2 separate regions of the Homo sapiens genome follow, and region 2 is linked to region 1. The links are contacts of gene promoters, found by promoter capture Hi-C in blood cells and fetal thymus (Javierre and others, 2016). All regions are on one chromosome and are shown on one strand. The core of a region is centred on a gene start or on the middle of the fragment in contact, and the rest is flanking DNA. Distances in the headings are between cores, read along the strand shown.

The links. Contacts are between HindIII fragments. The CHiCAGO score rates a contact against its expected background, and 5 or more counts as called.
Region 2: a contact is called between a fragment that was not itself captured here and the fragment with the promoter of CCDC90B in region 1, in 2 of 17 cell types (non-activated CD4 T cells and total CD4 T cells). The highest score is 7.6, in non-activated CD4 T cells.

The regions. Positions count from the first base shown.
Region 1 is chr11:83,285,060-83,287,687 of GRCh38, forward strand. CCDC90B (coiled-coil domain containing 90B) reads right to left here and starts at 1,308. Exons shown (of 9, transcript NM_021825.5): 1 at 814-1,308. The coding sequence starts at 913. CCDC90B-AS1 (CCDC90B antisense RNA 1) reads left to right here and starts at 1,061. Exons shown (of 3, transcript NR_186344.1): 1 at 1,061-1,488. RefSeq lists enhancers at 81-677, 566-645, 678-1,273, 696-1,345. The HindIII fragment of the contact is 4,800 bases long and covers 1-1,762 here.
Region 2 is chr11:87,033,660-87,036,287 of GRCh38, forward strand. All of the region lies in intron 1 of LOC105369422 (a long non-coding RNA gene), which reads right to left. Among named protein-coding and RNA genes, the nearest start is that of TMEM135, 3.0 kb to the right of the region's middle. The HindIII fragment of the contact is 2,330 bases long and covers 172-2,501 here.

The DNA.
Region 1 (2,628 bases), core at 58-2,557:
CACAAGTAACAATATGGAGTATAAATAACAGCGTAGAAGTGTTTGGGTACCGAATGGCTCAGCGTACCTGGCACTGAAGATTCAAGAAGGTGAACAGAGATAAGAGGTGCCTATTCGCCTATTTTGTGGACAACCTTAAAACGGTTTAAAAACTGGGAGGGAAGTTAAAAAACTGGGGGTGAAAAACAACGACGACAACAAAAACCTAGCCCTAGAAACATTTCTCTGAATAAAGTTAGATGTCTTCAGGACACCCTGTTAACAGGGGTGCCAACAGGTTGGAAACTTGTGGGTTCCAGTATTCACTTATTTTCCCAAAGTCTACAATGTGACTGAAATGTACTGAGAATTCCAGTGAGAATAAGGCAGACGTGGCCTGAAATTTATGATGCTGTCTACCAAAAACCTGGGCTCGAGGCCAGCACCTAAAAAAACAAAATCAAAATTTGATCAGGCCACAAAAGAAAACAGGACACCCTCAAACACAGATTACCTTACGTTGGCTCCTGACGAGATTACTAGCCTCTTGTCACCAAAAAACGGAAACAACGGCTGAGAAAGAAGCCGGGCGCGAAGCCCAGGCCTTCAAAGGTTCGCTTTAAGAACAGAAAGGCAGTGCTTTCCTCAGTCCTCGCCCCTTGGGGCGAGCTGGGCAAGTCGGGGCAGCAGGCAGCGGCGTCGCCCAGCACAAGGCGTGAATCCGGGAGGAGGGCGTGGCACCTTCTCTTCCCGTTCGCTCGAGCAGGCGCGACCCCACGGGCATCGTCTCCCTAGAGAGCACTCAGGCATCTATGACACGACGCCTTGCCTCACCTCTCCGCAGGGCCGGCGAGAAATGCCCGCGGGGCCTTGAAACCCAACGATCTCCTCTGCCTTGGGAGAGAAAGAGCCGCCAAGCCTGGCGACTATTCATGTCCTCAGAGTTTTCCGGTGGGAGGGAGGCGGAAGACGGGGTAAATCTCGCACAGGCTTTCGGGCAAGGTAGTTCTGGCACCACAGGAATGCTGGGAATTGTAGTTTTCGCTCTGTCACAAGCTCACCTCCCAGCGCAGGCGCCACCGTGGTCCCACGAAACTGGGTCTCTTCACAGACAGACCCACAGTTCGCGAGCATGGCTCAGCGCTGCCCCGCTTCTCCCAGCGCCCCTTCCCGACCTTTGAACGCCTTCACCGCCCTAGGAAAGCGAGATCTTGTCAGAGAACCTTCCGGCGCCTGTTTCCTGGCAGTGGGGCATAGTCCAACAGCTGGCTCCCCCAAGATAGCCAGCGGCCATTACGCGCTTGGGTCGGGGGAGATGGAGTCGCATTTAGCCGCACAGCAGCCTGGAACCTGAAGTTTTCGGCCGCTGAGCGTTCTGGGTGATTGCGTAGTGCGAGGGCCAACGAAACCTTCTGGGAAGTGTAGTCCAGCAAGCCGCTCACTTTTCGTGAGGCGTCACATCCTGCTGCTTCACCCTCTGGTGCACGGGAGGACCAACTATTTCAGTCGGTATGTCCTTTCTTTAGGGAAGCCGAATTCCTCCGTTTCTAGGAGAAATTCCTTGAATTTTCACCATTTATCCTTCTCAGACCTCAGTTACTCAAGACTGCTCCGCATAGTAAAATGCTGAAAGCAACAATGCACAGTAGTTGTATTAAAATGCACTAATACTCATGAATATTCTCTGTAAGTTGTAAAATGGCACACAGTTGTGCGGTGTTAGTGGCTTACTCTCTCAAGATTCTAAACAATTACGGCTAGGTTTCTATCTATATGTATTCAAAGCTTTGTGAGAGTCAACTAAGTAACAAACACCATTTCTAAGGCCCGAAGCACATTGAAAGAACAAAACTTGATTCCCGCCAACAACTGCTTTAACAGACAATTCATGAAGAGGAAATATAAATTGCTATTTAAAACACTGGGATGGCTGGGCGTGGTGGCTCATGCCTGTAATTCCAGCACTTTGGGAGGCCGAGGCGGGCAGATCACCTGAGGTCGGGAGTTCGAGACCAACCTGACCAACGTGGAGAAACCCTGTCTATATTAAAAATACAAAATTAGCCGGGCGTGGTGGCACATGCCTGTAATCCCAGCTACTCAGGAGGCTGAGGTAGGAGAATCGCTTGAATCCTGGAGGCGGAGGTTGCAGTGAGTCGAGATCACACCATTGCACTCCAGCCTGGGCGACAGAGTGAGACTCGATCTAAAAAAAAAAAAAAAAAATTGGGAAAAAAGTTTGATCTTACCAGTTTCAAAATACAAAACGCAAAACCTTAGGGTATATCGAGGTTAGGGGTCCCAATGATCCCAACAGGATGTAAGCATAGTACTCAACAGGTGCTTTTTCAACCCATGCCCCTCTGTCCGTCTCCCCCTTTCCTCATCTAATGATCCTCAATGCCTGTTGTTTCCACGTTTACCATCATATATTCAATGTTTAGCTCCTACTTATAAGTGAGAACATGTGTATTTGGTTTTCTGTTCTTGGCATTAGGTTGCATAGGATAATGGCTCCAGTTCCATCCATGTTGCTACAAAGAGTATAATTTCCTTATTTTTATGGCTGCATTATATTCCATGGTGTATATGTACCACATTTTCTTTATCCAGTCCACTGTTGATGGGCACTTAGGTTGATTTCATGTC
Region 2 (2,628 bases), core at 87-2,586, 3.7 Mb after region 1:
GGTGCCACTAATCTCAGCTAGTGAGGCAGAAGAATCACTTGAGCCCAGGAGGCGGAGTTTGCAGTGAGCCGAGATCGTCCCATTGCACTCCAGCTTGGGTGACACAGCAAGACTCCGTCTCAAAAGAAAAGAAAAGAAAAGAAAATCAGAATCATATGTAGCTTTGTGAAAAGCTTGGTTACTGACTGTTGCTGGAATCAAGAGCTACTACAGTGTCATACTTCGAGTTTGCCGTACTTTGCCATTGTACTTGTGCCTGATAATTATTTCTACAATGACTGCATGTAGATCTAAACTAGATTAGTGTCGTTAAATCCTCTGCATTAGATCTTAAGAGCTCTTCCATTCTTTTTCGTTGACATCTTCAAAACTAGAATCCTACAAGAGCAACAACTTTGTGTTTTTTTTTTTTTTTTCATTCTTCCATCACAAAGAAAGGGGCAACAATTTTCATCTTGGCGTTTCTTCAAAGCCTTTGAATTCCATCATAAATTGCCAGATTAGTTTTCTTCATCCACTGTGCACCTTCTTTGGAGAAACTCTTTGCTTCACCTTGTTGATGAACCCTAAAGCCCTCCCTGCGTTTTTTTAATGAAAAAGAAGAAACAATGAAGCCCCCAGAAAGTATCCAATCAAGCCACTGTCATAGCCAACCTAAAAGAATAAATGACCCATGCAGATGCAATGTTTAACATTATCTTTAAACTTAATGGTGGCATGAAGAGAAGGCTTTCTTTTAAAAAACAGCCTGCTATATCTTATAATACCATATAAAGAAATTTACAAATGTAAGCTACTGGTTTAACTGCATACTGCTCCATTTTGCAATTTTTTTTGCATCCTAAAGCACAGATCATCTCCCCTGAGGATTTATCAATGCCTTCCTGTTTTGGAATCTCCATAGCAGCACTAGAAAAGATAGAGTATCCTTTCTTTTGAACTTGGGAGTTTCCCTGAAATCACCCCTTTGCCACCCAGCTCATCAGCATTGTCCCCTTTGGCACCATCCCCTTTTTCTCAAATTTCTTTATGCTTCAAGTCTCCATTTAACAGTTAATTAGGACCAGGTGTGTTGGTGCACACCTGTAATCCCAGCAGTTTGGGAGGCTGAGGTGGGTGGACAGCTTGAGCCCAGGAGTTCAAGAGCAGTCTGGGTAACACAGGGAGACCCTACAAATAATTTAAAAACATTAGCCAGGTGTGGTGGCGTACCTGTGGTCCCAGCTACTCAGGAGGCTGAGGCAGGAGGATCTCCTGAGCCCAGGGGATATAGGCTGCTGTGAGCTGTGATTGCGCCACTGCACTTCAGCCTGGGTAGCAGAGTGAGACCATGTCTCAAAACAAACAAAAAACAGTTAACTAAAAGAAACCACCTGGTTTTAATTGTAATTTTAAAATTTCCTTATTTATTAATGTGTAATTGCTGGGCCACATAGTAAACATATTGTTTATTATCAGGCATGAAAACTATATTGTGCTATTACATTCAGAAGCAACTGAGAGTTAACAATCATATTAAAAATTTTTTTTTTTTTGAGACGGAGTCTTGTTCTGTTGCCCAGGCTGGAGTGTAGTGGCACCATCTCGGCTCACTGCAACCTCCGCCTCCCAGGTTCAAGTGATTCTCCTGCCTCAGCCTCCTGAGTAGCTGGGATTACAGGTGTCCACCACCATGTCTGGCTACTTTTTGTATTTTTAGTAGAGATGGAGTTTCACCATAGGCCAGGCTGGTCTTGAACTTATGACCTCAGGTGATCCACCAAGCTCAGCCTCCCAAAGTGTTGGGATTATAGGTATCAGCCACCGTGCCCAGCTCGTATTAATTGTTTGGTGAATAAGATGTTATTTGTATAGTATTGTACATCTTAACATGATCATTTTTTGTTAATATTTGATACTATGTTTTAAATACTTGTTAAGAATTTTTTGGTTGATATGTAATGCATTTTATTTTTTCCCATTTAAAACTAAGTTCCTATTCAGCATTTTCTTGTGAAAGGATCACAGATATTCAGGAATGGATTATTGAAAAAAAATAAGCCTGCACTGCTATTTCTGTAATTTTTTGGATAAGTTTATGCTGTGTTTTTGATCTTCTTAGTTTCTGAATTGGAGATTTGAAAAAAATTGTGATTATCTTGTTCCTATTCTACCATTGTATATTGGATGTGTTGAGGCGGATGATAACTTTATCATGAGATCTGCATCTGGTCCTGAGGAATATTCTGGACTTTGGCTAGGATTCAGCAACTGCATGGAATTTTAGGTTGTCTCCCTTGGAAAAGGGAAGGTATGTCTATCTGTAGAAAGAATGGTGTGCCCGGATATTTGGGTAGCCAGAGACATAGAACTATGGCAGACACTGCTAGTTGCCTCTAATATCTGTTTTTTCCATTTTGCTCAGTAATAAAACCTCAAATGTTAGCTGGGCATTTGTCCCATTAATTAAAAAAGATTGTATTCACCATCCTCTCTTGCAATGAAGTGTGGCCATGTGATTAAGCTTTGTCCAAGGAACGTAAGTTGTAGTAGTTTGTATGGATCTTCTGGGAAGTTTTTTTAAAAACAGGAAGTATGCCCTTTTCTCCCCGCCCCCGCCCCCCCGTTTTTTTTTTTTTTTTTTTTTTG